2 separate regions of the Homo sapiens genome follow, and region 1 is linked to region 2. Evidence: promoter capture Hi-C in human tissues and cell types (Jung and others, 2019). All regions are on one chromosome and are shown on one strand. The core of a region is centred on a gene start or on the middle of the fragment in contact, and the rest is flanking DNA. Distances in the headings are between cores, read along the strand shown. Region 1 has its middle 22 kb from the start of UBAP2. Region 2 holds the start of UBE2R2 (ubiquitin conjugating enzyme E2 R2).

Evidence for each region. Contacts are between HindIII fragments. The study calls those that stand out against the background at their distance.
Region 1: a contact is called between a fragment that was not itself captured here and the fragment with the promoter of UBE2R2 in region 2, in 4 of the 25 tissues and cell types used here (IMR-90 fibroblasts, dorsolateral prefrontal cortex, hippocampus and 1 more).

Annotation. Positions count from the first base shown.
Region 1 is chr9:34,068,148-34,074,212 of GRCh38, forward strand. No RefSeq gene overlaps it. Among named protein-coding and RNA genes, the nearest start is that of UBAP2, 22 kb to the left of the region's middle. The HindIII fragment of the contact is 4,573 bases long and covers 1-4,213 here.
Region 2 is chr9:33,812,781-33,819,374 of GRCh38, forward strand. UBE2R2 (ubiquitin conjugating enzyme E2 R2) reads left to right here and starts at 4,380. Exons shown (of 5, transcript NM_017811.4): 1 at 4,380-5,154. The coding sequence starts at 4,978. UBE2R2-AS1 (UBE2R2 antisense RNA 1) reads right to left here and starts at 6,088. Exons shown (of 5, transcript NR_170204.1): 1 at 5,847-6,088. RefSeq lists an enhancer at 3,890-3,979 and silencers at 4,270-4,369, 4,550-4,759, 4,830-4,999. The HindIII fragment of the contact is 14,786 bases long and covers 1-6,594 here.

The DNA.
Region 1 (6,065 bases), core at 677-3,176, 250 kb after region 2:
GCTGCACCTTCAGTAGGGGCCATCAGTGACCATGGCAGGTATCAGGGGAAGACTTTCCTGGTTTCTGAAGTATGAGTAAGAAGAGAGTTCCTGGCCGGGAGTGGTGGCTCACACCTGTAATCCCAGCACTTTGGGAGGTTGAGGCAGGTGGATCACCTGAGGTCAGGAGTTCGAGACTAGCCTGGCCAACATGGGGAAACCTCATCTCTACTAAAAAAATACAAAAAATTAGCTGGGCACAGTGGCAGGTGCCTATAATCCCAGCTACTCGGGAGGCTAAGGCAGGAGAATCGCTTGAACCCAGGAAGGAGAGGTTGCGGTGAGCCGAGATTGCGCCGTTGCACTCCAGCCTAGGAGAGAGCAAGACTCCATCTAAAAAAAATAATAATAAGTAAATAAAAAAAAAGAAGTCAGTTCCTAAACAGCCTAGAGATGCATTCAGCCAAGGTCCCCAGGCTTAGGTGGAATGTACCTCCAACAGGTGCTGGGGCCTTAAAAGCTCACGCTGGGTGCAGTGGCTCACTTCTGTAATCCCAACACTTTGGGAGGCCAAGGCAGGCGGATCCTTTGAGGCTAGGAGTTTGAGACCAGCCTGTGCAACATGGCAAAACCCCATCTCCACTAAAAATACAAAAGTTAGCAACATGGTGAGACCGTGTCTCTACAAGAAATTTAAAAATTAACCAGGTGTGGTGGCACATGCCTGTAGTCCCAGTGGACGACTGCCTGAACCTAGGAGTTTGAGAGTAGCCTGGGCAACATGGGGAAACCCTATCTATAAAAAATTTTATATATATATATATATATAAATTAGCTGGGCATGGTGGTGCACACCTGTAGTTCCAACTATTCAGGAGACTGACCTGGGAGGACCACCTGAACCTGGGGAGGTCAAGGCTGCAGTGAGCCATGATTGTGCCAGTGCACTCCAGCTGGGTGACAGAGCAAGACCCTGTCTCAAAACAAACAAAACAAAACAGCAACAAAAAACACCACACAATAAAAAACTCAACAATCAACAAAACAAGCCCTAATATGTAGCATGTGCTGATTTCTGTGGCATAAATATCCCTACCACAGCCTATTTAAAGTTACAGGATATGGCCGGGCGTGGTGGCTCACACCTACAACCCCAGCACTTTGGGAGGCCAAGGCTGTTGGATCACTTGAGGTCAAGAGTTCAAGACCTGCCTGGCCAACTTGTCAAAACCCTGCCTCTACTAAAAATACAAAAATTAGTCGGTCATGGTGATGTGGACCTGTAATCCCAGCTACTTGGAAGGCTGAGGCAGGAGAATTGCTTGAACCCAGGAGGCAGAGGTTGTAGTGAGCAAACATTGCACCACTGCACTCCAGCCTGGGCGACAGAGAGAAACCTGTCTCAAAAAACAAAACAAAAAATAAATAAAATAAAATAAAGTTACAGGATATATCAAGCTACATCAACCTACAATATAATGCTGGAAGTGGAGAGTGAAGTAGTGGAGAACTCTGACTCCAGTGCAGGCAAGTTACTTTATCTCTCTGGGCCTCAGTTTCTTCATCTGTAAAATGAGATGATACTAATGCTTCCTCCATAGAGTCATTAAGGGGATTAAATGTGAATATATGAAAATGACGTATGGCAGAGGCTAACATTCCGTACCTTTTAGCTATTGTTAGCCTCTACTATTAATTTACTGTGTGACCTTGGGCAAGACTCTTTCTATCTCTGCATCTTAGTTCCTTCACTTTGTAAAACAAAGAGGTTTTATTGTAAATAATCTTTGACATCCTTCCAGCTCTAAAAATCCTAGTGCCATCTCTGACTCCAGTAAAAGAGAACCTCAGCCTCCGTCTCTGGTTTATGAGCACTTTTCCTGAAATCACAGGTATAAGTCACCTGGGTGATGCAAGAAACATCCAGGTGGATTCTGTCCAAAGTTGATTCATTCCAAAATGTAAAGTTAAAAGGCCGGGTGTGGTGGCTCACTCCTGTAATCCCAGCACTTTTGGAGGCCAAGGCAGACGGATCACTTGAGGTCGAGAGTTTGAGACGAGCCTGGCCAACGTGGTGAAACCCCATCTCTACTAAGCAAACAAACAAACAAAAAATACAAAAATTAGCCGGGCATGGTGGCGCACACCTGTAATCCCAGATACTCAGGAGGCTGAGGTAGGAGAATTGCTTGAACCCAGGAGGCAGAGGTTGCAGTAAGCTGAGATCGCACCACTGCAAGACTCTGTCTCAAAAAAAAAAAAAAAAGTAAAGTTAAAAGTAATTATCAGGCCGGGCAGTGGCTCATGCCTGTAATCCCAGCACTTTGGGAGGCCGAAGTGGGCAGATCACCTGAGGTCAGGAGTTTGAGACCAACCTGGCCAACATGGTAAAACACCATCCCTACTAAAAATACAAAAATTAGCTGGGTGTGGTGGTGCACACCTGTAATCCCAGCTACTCAGGAGGCTGAGACAGGAGAATCGCTTGAACCCAGGAGGGAGAGGTCGCAGTGAGCTGAGATCATACCACTGCACTCCAGCTTGGGTGACAGAGCAAGACTCCATCTCAAAAAAATTAAAAAAAAAAAGAAGTAATTGTCAGCCTTTGCCTCACTCAGTCTGGGAAAACTTCTCTGGGGCCAAAGCTTCCCGGCATCTGGGACTCTTTTCCTCTAACTGGCAGGCCCAGGTGCTGGTCAGTTCTGGCTGAGTCATTTGTAAACCTGCTAGGTGCCTGGTTTAGAAACTTTCTGATTCTTCCCTCTTGGGAGGGTCCTAGGGGAAAATGTCTTTTTCTTTTTTTCTTTGTTTCATGGAGAGAAACAAAAACAGAAAGAAACAGAAATACAGAGAGAAACCTAGAGGCACTATTAATAGAAAGAGACTGAGAAAAAAACACCAGGAGAAAGATTTTTCTGACATTTTTTTTTCTAACAAGAGAAGACAAATACAAACAGAGCTGAAGATAAAATAAAAGCTGATTCCCACCACAACTCTGCAGAATTTCTTGGAAAGGATCATGTTTCAAATAAATACACATGCAGTACAGATGGCGGTATTTCTTGCTTTTTTCCCTACTCTTAACTCTGGGATATTTTGAGCATGCACCTTCCTCCAGCCCAAATGCCCAGTGGAATAATCTTACCTACGTTTCCATTCAGGCCCAATCCTCCTGGTTGAATTCCATAGGAGTTAGAATTATTATCACCTTTTATCACCTTAGAACCAAAGATTCTAAGAGCGAAAAATGACTTTAGAGCACACCTCCTCTTCCTGCAATATTTTACATATGAGAAAACCGAAGCTCAGAGAGGTTAGGTAACTTACTGAGATCCTACAGACAAATGACAGAGCCAGGTTAGATGGCAATCTGTAGTAAGATACATGTCCTTATTTATCAGGTCCCCAGCAAGAAATAGATGGATAATTGAGGAGAGTTTAATAACGACAACGAGAGATGTTACAGTGCCCGAGGGCCAGTGACAGTGTGGAAACCTGATCACTATTGGGCTTCAGGGGACAACAGGAAGGGAGCAGCAAACAAATGAGAAGGGTCACCTGACAGGGGTCTGCAGTGACTCCACTTTTAGGAAGGTGGGGTGTCAGTGGAAAATAAATAACCTCTTTTTTTTTTTGAGACGGAGTCTCACTCTGTCGCCCAGGCTGGAGTGCAGTGGCACGATCTTGGCTCACTGCAGCCTCCGCCTCCCGGGTTCAAGCAATTCTGCCTCGGTCTCCCAAGTACCTGGGACTAAAGGCACGCGCTGCCATGCCCAGCTAATTTTTATATTTTTAGTAGAGATGGGGTTTCGCCATGTTGGCCAGGTTGGTCTCGAACACCTGACCTCAGGTGATCTCCCCACCTCAGCCTCCCAAAGTGCTGGGATTACAGGCATGAGCCACGGTGCCCGGCCATAAATAACCTCTTGTCCCAATCCTCTTTCCTCCTAATCTCCATTGGGAGAATTTAACCAGAAGGCAGAGGACAAGAAGGCCTACTGATAGACCAGGAGTACCCAGTAGGGCAGAGAGTAGATCTGGAGGGGTACATGGAAGCACACCTATCATCACTTTATTTATTATTATTATTATTATTATTATTATTTGAGATGGAGTCTAACTTTGTCGCCCAGGCTGGAGTAAAGTGGTGAGATCGCACCACTGCACTCCAGCCTGGGTGGCAGAGCGAGACTCTGCCTCAAAAAATTAAAAAAAAAAAAAACAAGGAAGAGAGAAGCTGGAGTCTTGGGACCTATGAGCAGATAGTTTAGTGGAAGCCTGGGAGGCCCTCTCCTCCTTCTGTGGAGCAAAAAGTCACCTCTCCAGGGACCTCTTTGACTTGACAGATCCCTTTGGCTGTATCCTGTCTCCTGCTCTCCCTACCTCTAGAATCACCTCCCTACCCTAAAGCCAAAGGAGTCTGAGGCAGAGTCAAGACTCTCAGAAGCAAGTTAAACCAGTTCCTGCAGGCCCTGACATGCCCTGCTGAATAGCCCCTGCAGAAAATTCCTGTCCTCAGCTGTAGCCACAGCTGGCTACTGATGGTAAGAAAGAGACCTGAGGAGGGGAGAGATCTCAAGGAAAACACAAGTCGACACCTTCCTTCAAATACAGATAGAGCCAAACTGGACTTTTAGGAGCTGAGACCGTGCCTGTGGGGCAAAGCTAACACTCAAGTCACCTCTTTCTTGGTCAGCATAGTGGCTACTTCTGCCTGAAAGGACATCTCCAAAGAGCACCAATGCCTGTTTCTTGGGGCCTCCATCCAACTGTGTCAGCTCAGATCCTAGCAGAGCTCCCGGTGTTCTCTGAGAAGCTGCCTCCCAGCAATATCTGAGAGCCCAGGTTTCAGTTTCTTCCTCCAGGTTGCTCAGGTCCCCTGAGTCCCGGGGAAAGGCCACACATGGCTTATTCCTCATGCAGGCAATATGGCTGGGTGTCTTGCCTCACTGTGGTTATATAGGGTAGGCTACAACCAGGGGGAGTACAGAGGTTAATGGTTCAGGATTGGGTAAAGGCCTGGCTGGAGGCTTGAGGGCTTGGAGCTTGGTGTAAAAGTTACCTCCCCCTGTTTCTGGTGCTTCAGAGTCAAAATTATTTGGCCTGACTTTAAGTGAGGGAGTTCTGCCATCTCTCCTGGACTGTAAGAGCTCAGCCGATGACTCAGGGAGCCCTAAGAATGCTTTACAGCTGTGCTCTGTAAACACCGTCACGTTTTATGTTGCAGAAGTTCACAGTCAGCCAAGAGATTTAGTTACCTGCCTGCAGTCAAAAGCTGGTTAATGATTAGAAACAGGATTTAACTGGGAGCTTCAACCTCAGATCCAGTGCTCTTTCTCTAAGCTGCCTCCTACCTAACTCCTCCAATGCTCTATTTATTTATTTCAGATAGGATCTGGCTCTGTCATCCAGGCTGAAGTGCAGTGGTGCAATCATAGCTAACTACAGCCCCAAACTTCTTGTGCTCAAGCGATCCTCCCATCTCAGCCTCCTAAGTAGCTGGGACTACAGGTACGTGCCACTTGTAGTGATTTTTAAATTCTTTTTTTAATAGAGATGAGGTCTTGGTATGTTGACTAGGCTGGTCTTGAGCTCCTGGCCTCAAGCAATCCTCCTACCTCAATCTCCCAAAGCGCTGAGGTTAGGTATGAGCCACCGCACCCCACCTCAATTTATTGAATTTGGTGATCCAGTGATCCAGTGGCAACATTCCATTCCTTCCACAATAAGATCTATTTGGCTTTAAACAAAACACACACACTTCTGAGAAGCTGTATGCTCACATCTTTGTAAATCAAATCTGCAGATAAATGCAGAGGGAAGCTTGATTCAAGGATTGCTACTCTGAAAACCTCAATAAAGTGAAATAAAACCCCAAAAACTCCTTCGAGTTTGAGACCAGCCTGAGCAATAAAGAAAATCCTGTCTCTAAAAAAAAAAAAAAAAAAATTAGCCATGCAGGGTAGTGCATGCCTGTAGTCCCAGCTACTCAGGAGGCTGAGGTGGGAGGATTGCTTGAGTGACCAGGAGGTTGAGGCTGCAGTGAGCCAAGATGGGGCCACTCCACTCCAGCCTGGGCAACACAG
Region 2 (6,594 bases), core at 3,130-5,629:
GTGGCTCACGCCTGTAATCCCAGCATTTAGGGAGGCCAAGACGGGAGGATCACCTAAGGTCAGGAGTTCAAGACCAGCCTGACCAATACAGTGAAACCCCATCTCAACTAAAAACACAAAAATTAGCCGGGCATGGTGGCATGTGCTTGTAGTCCCAGCTACTCAGGGGGCTGAGACAGGACAAGCGCTTGAACCCAGCAGGCAGAGGTTGCAGTGATCCAAGATTGCTCCACTGCACTCCAGCCTGGGCTGCAGAGCAAGACTCTGTCTCAAAAAAAAAAAAAAAAAGTTGTGGGATAAAAAAATCAACATACAAAAATTAGTAGCATTTCTATACACCAGTAATAACTAGCCGAGAAAGAATTCAAGAAGGAAATCCCATTTATAATAGCTACAAGAAAATAAAATACTTAGGAAAAAAATTTAACCATGTTGAAAAAAGTTTCACCATGTTGGCGAGGCTGATCTCGAACTCCTGACCTCAAATGATCTGCCTGCCTCAGCCTCCCAAAGTGCTGGGATTACAGGCATGAGCCGCTGCGCCTGGCCAACTTTTTGAAATTTAATATGTTAACATATATGTAAAACTTGGACACTACTCTTAAGGAGCCACAGTCTTCCTCTAAAATTAGTAGTGGGCCTGCCATGGTGGCTCACACCTGTAATCTCAGCACTTTGAGAGTTTGAGGTGGGCGGATTGCTTGAGCTCAGGAGTTCAAGACCAGCCTGGGCAACATAATGAAACCTTGTCTCTACTAAAAATACAAAAATTAGTCCGGTGTGGTGGCACTGCGCCTGTAGTCCCAGCTACTCCGGGGACTGAGGTGGGAGGATTGCTGGAACCCAGGAGGCGGAGGTTGCAGCGAGCCAAAATCATGCTACTGCACTCCAGCCTGGGTGACAGAGCAAGACTCTGTCTCAGTTAAAAAAAAAAAAAAAAAAAAAAGAAGAGGAAGAAGAAGAAGTACCCTGGTTGGAAAGTACCAGGTGATGCCTGACACTGAGCGTTAAGCGCTCTGTTTTCTTTTTAAAAAAAAATATTATTTTTTAAATTTAAATTTTGAGTGCTGTTTTTCTTTACCACCAGAGGGCACCAATCAGGCAAGTCAATCTACATGCCATTATGAAACAATATGAGAAAGCTCTAGGAAGCTGTTTCTAGCATTCATTCTTTTTAACAAATATGTTTTGAGCACTTAATATGTGCCAAACATTGGAGTAGCTGGTGTAGAGTTTTGGAATTTATAGTCTTGAGCACCTACTATGTGCTTGAGAGAACAGATAGGCATGGGGATAGAGGGTAGGGTTCAATTTGTGATTTTGTGATTACTCATTGTCTTCCTGTCCTTGGCCATGAGTCTCTTGAGAACAATTACTTAGTGTCTACTTTGTGTCAGATGGTGTGCCTGTTGCTGAGGATTCAGGCATGAATAAGACACAGTGGCAGTCTACTAATAAACAATGTCTTACTGGCTAGAATAAAAACACATGAGCTAGTTCTGTGGAATTCCAGTTCCTGTGACCTGAGAATAAACAGCCTTGATTATAAAACTCATTAACGCATTGAGCTTCCAACCTCCCAGCATAGAGGCATGCCCGCAGTGGATGCTTAGTGAGTTTGTGAGTTGACATGAGCCCAGGGGGCCGCTTCTGGTCTGAGTGCCAGGTATACGTTCCAGTGGGTTAGACTAGGGCTTCATCACCCTCCAGGTCAGGGTGGGGCTGTGATGAGTTTTTGTGGGTGAAATGCTTTGAAGATGACCTTTCTACCTATTTATCTGCTCACCGCCTTGCTATTAAAGGTGTCAACATCATCTTTCACATTTCCGGGTCAGCAATCCTCTTGTCCCTAAATTGACTGGTACTGGAGGGAAAGACAGAATGGGACATAAACCATCATTTTGATAAGAGGGGCTGCATTCACTAGGATACTCCCTCTTCTCTGAGGGGAGCTCTAATTCCAGTAGAGTTCGGTCTCAAGACCTGGACAGTAGCGTTGGCGGCTAGAAAAGGATGTTTTAAAACACTGAGACCTCGTCTTTTACAGGAAAAAAAAGGCCAAAAAAAAAGGAGGGGGGGCTGCTTAAGTGTGGATTGTGTAGAGTGACTCCATTCCAAAGAGTACAGTATAGAAAAGGGGAGGAAGGGGCAGAGTAACTTTACAGTAGAAAGACTTGACACACTTCCTCAGCCAGACAATCAAGGTCAACATCAACATTGCTAAGTCATGTTGCTATTTGTGCCCTTAATATGATGTGATGAAATGGCATTTCACCTCTGTGATCTTACCCTCAAAAACTCATAATCCCAGTCTAATCATGAGAAAAGCATCACAATCCCAATTGAGGGACAGTCTACAAAATACTTGACCAGTATTCTTCAAAACTGTTAAGGTCATCAGAACAAAGTCTAAGAAACTGCCACAGTCAAGAGGAATCTACAGAAACAGGAAAACTGAATGTAGTCTGGTATCCTGGATGAGATCCTGGAACAGCAAAAGGTCAGTAGGTAAAAATTAGGGAAGTATGAGCTTCAGTCAACAGTGATGTATCAATATTAGCTCATTAATTGTAATACATGTACTCTACTAATGTAATATGTTAATAAAAGGGGGAACTGGGCGCCAGGTGTAGGGGAACTTGACTATCTTTTCAATTTTTCTATAAATCTAAAACTGTCCTTGGCTGGGCACAGTGGCTCACGCCAGTAATCCCAGCACTTTGGGAGGCTGAGGTGGACGGATCACCTGAGGTCAAGGGTTGGAGACCAGCCTCGCCAACATGGTGAAATCCCGTCTCTACTAAAAATACAAAAATTAGCTGGGCATGGCTGTGCACACCTGTGGTCCTGCTACTTGGGAGACTGAGGTTAGAGGATGGCTTAAGCCCAGGAGGTTACTGCTAGAGTGAGCTATAATCACTCTACTGTACTCCAGCCTGGGCAACAGAGTAAGACCCTGTCTCAATAAAAGGGGTGGGTAGTGGTGGTATCCAGAATACAGCTATGCCTTAAAGTTTTTTTCTTTCAAGTTTCTATGAATCATTAACCATGTGCCAGTCACTACGCTAAATGCTGTACATACATTTAATCATTACAATTGCTTGTGTTGGGTATAATTAATCCCCTTTTACAGAAGCTGATTAAACAGCCGGGTGTGGAGGCATGCACCTGTAGTCCTAGCTACTTGGGAGGCTGAGGTGGGAGAATCGCTTGAACCTGGGAGGCGGAGGTTGCAGTGGGCCATGATCGCGCCACTGTGCTACAGCCTGGGTGACAGAGCAAGACCCTGTCTCAAACAAAACAAAACCAAAAAACAAAAAACTGATGATACAGGGAGAAGTAATGGAACTAGGGTTGGAACCAAGATCTGTCTAGTTCCGAAACTGTGTGTGTAGAACTCTCACAATATTCTGGCTTTTCTAGGAAATGTTTTTTAGGCAGTTATCCTAGGACATGCCTTCCTAGGAGAAAGGAGTACTGTATTCTGAACCACGGGGGGACCAAAGACTGTCCCCACATCTCACTTCGGTTATGATTATCTCGAAAGTCCCTCAGTTCCAGGGTGGACATTCAAGCCACAAGCACCTATAGGGAACTTTGACCCCTAAGTTCAACCACAGTAGTTTATTTTACAAATGGCGAAGGCGAAGGGCAGCCTGAGCACTTGCCCCAAATCACAATGAGAAGGGCTAGAGACCCAGTTTGTTATTGTCTTTTTCCTCACAACTTCCTCTTTGTAGTTAAGAAGGGAAGCAGAAGCTGACCTTTTTGTCTCACCCCGTTTCTCACGTGGAACTGCCGCACCCAGGGTGAGTAACGTGCCAAAGGGCACACTTGCCTGTGGGCTGGCCTGCGGGAAGGTCTGTTCCCACCGAAAAGACCCACATTGTCAGCACATCCTAATCAAGTAGCTACTAAGTGGAGGGACCGCAGACTGGGTGTCACGGGGAGGGGCCTGCAGCGACCAGGCCCGTCCCAGGATGGCTGCGGAGGCCCCTGGATCCACAGTGGGGAGGGCCCCGAGAGCCGGGAGACCTGGGTTCCCTTCCCGGGCACGCCTTTGGAACTGCGGCGTCCAGCCGCACAACCGTCACTCTGGGGCCACGGCAATCCCTGCGCCCGCCCTTGGTCCCCGCTGCTTCTGGGATCTTTATGGGCGGGGGACACGCGCCAGCGTCACAAAGCGCCGCGACCGCGCGGGAGACCGAGAGGAGGCGTGGAAACGGGAGGAGGAGGAGGTGGTAGTGGAGGAGAGCCAGGCACGGTGGGGGGAGGGGAGGGAGGGGCACGCGCACGCGCGTCGGGCCGCCAGCCGCTGAGAGCCGCCCAGCACCCGGCGTGCGCCCCTCCTCCCTCTCTCCCTCCCTCCCTCCCTCCCTGCTTCTCGGCTCCGTTGCTCCCGCGGCGCGAGGCGCTCTCGCTCTCCTCCTCCTCCGCCGTCGCCCCTCCCCCCGCGCAGCCCCCGCCGCCACCGCCGCGAGACCCCCGCACGCCGCTCTCCCCCCACCCTCTCCTGCCCCGCGCGCCCTCCGGCCCCTGCGGCCCCCGAAGAGAACGAGAGGGCGAGCGAGCGCGGCGTTCCCGGGCCGGCCCGGCCCCCTCCCTTCACCATCGCCGGCCCTCCGCCGCCTTCCTCCGCTTCCACCTCCTCTCCCCCCCCCCAAGTTGAGGCCCCCTCCGGGGGGGGGAGGCCCGGGACCGGGACCCGTAGCGAATTCTCCTAACTCCCTCGACCTCTCCTCTCGCCCGGCCCGAGTGTGAGGAGAAGGGCCCGGCCCGGCCTGCGTCGTGTGTGAGGAGGACCCCGGGCGGGCCCACGGGCCGTGTGGGGCCTGGTCTGGCCCGCCGGGTGTGTGAAGACCGGGGCCCGGTGCTGCCCGGCCGGAGGGCGAGCGGAGGGGAGGGGCCTGGTCCGGCCCGGCCGGTGCGTGAGGACTGGGGCCCGGGCCCGGCGCCGCCGCCGCCGCCGCCGCCGCGATGGCCCAGCAGCAGATGACCAGCTCGCAGAAGGCCCTGATGCTCGAGCTGAAATCCCTGCAGGAGGAACCGGTGGAGGGCTTCCGGATCACCCTGGTGGACGAGTCCGACCTCTACAACTGGGAGGTGGCCATCTTCGGACCCCCCAACACCCTCTACGAAGGCGGCTACTTCAAGGTACCCTCACCCTCCTCCCGGACCCTGCTTCCGCGGCCGAGGCCTCCGGCTCCCCGCCGCTTTCTGCAGTTCCTGGGACCAGGAGTATGAGCACGGGCGAGTGGAGGGGGCTTCTCACCCGTGCAGCCCCCTCCCCCATCCCTGGAGGCAGGAAGGCCTTGCTCGCCGAGTGCCTTTTCTTTGTCATGGGGGCGGGGGCTCGGGCGGGGGCGGGAGGGCAGGCTGCACCGGGAAATCGGAGAGCCTCTCTGGTTAGGGTAGTGTCTACGGGCGGAGGAGGCCGCCTTTGTTTCCCCCGCTGAGGGTGGGTGGAAAGAGCGGTGGTCTATCTGTGCTTTTTCGTTCTCCGGTCGGAACCCCTCCCTGCGCAGGCTGGAACTGCCCCAGAGGGCAGGGTGACCTGCACCGACTGGATTGGACTTTTCTTTTTTGGGGGGTGGGGGTGGGGGTGGGGTGGGGGAGGGGCACCAGCTTGTCATTTCAGAAGCTGCCGAGTGCCCTGACATTTTGAGGATTTGTTGGGCATCTTGGGTAGTGGTAGTGCCAACTTTGCATTCCAATGGGTGGTGGTGAAGAATGGGACCCTAGGGGTGGTAAAAAAAAAAAAAAAAAAAAAAAGGGTGCCCGCGTCGTCTTGTCATTATCCATTTGGGGGAACTTTAACCCTCTTTCCGTTCACATTCTCTGCTTACCTCAGTCACTGGTTCTTTCAAAATGCCCTTTGTCCTCACCATGCCACCAAGTTTGCCAACCTTTTTTTCTACAGGTAGAAGTATCCACAAAGGGTGGAACGAGTCATGTAGGGAGACTGATAGCTTCCTACTTTCAGAGACAAAATTGAAACCTGCTCAAGTGGTTAACTCTAGCTAAAGGGGTGGTCTCACAGATGACAAGTATCATCTGAGGCGAGATCGTTTCTCTGGGTGGGATGTATGGTTCCTTAGCGACCACAGACATTGTTTCTGTTGTTTTATATGGTCTTAGAACAGTGGTTATCATTCCAGAATCTAATGATTTTTTTTTAACTCCAAGGTAGTTAACTTGGAGATAATGAGTGTTTGTTTTGTTTTGTTTTTACTTGAGTGTTTTTGCAGGGAGGAATCACAGATTGAAAGTCTGAATATTTTAAATGATGGGGGCAGAGAGAGGAAATGAGTGCTTAGGAATCCATTTAGTTTTATTTTTTTATTTTCAAAATTAAGTAAAATAGGCCAGTGAGTCAATTTTAGTTTGGAAGGGAGGGGTTATCTTGGCACAAGTTTTAAATGAGTATCTTAGTCATGTAGTTGTGATGTGTATTTTTAGGACTACCCAATTACTTAACTCTTGTTTTCTACCCTTCTAAAGGTGGAAACCTCAGTTTTATGCTTGAAATTAGGTCAACTTTGTAGGAAATGGGATTGATACAGGAATGTTTAATATTCACTACTGTATATAGTC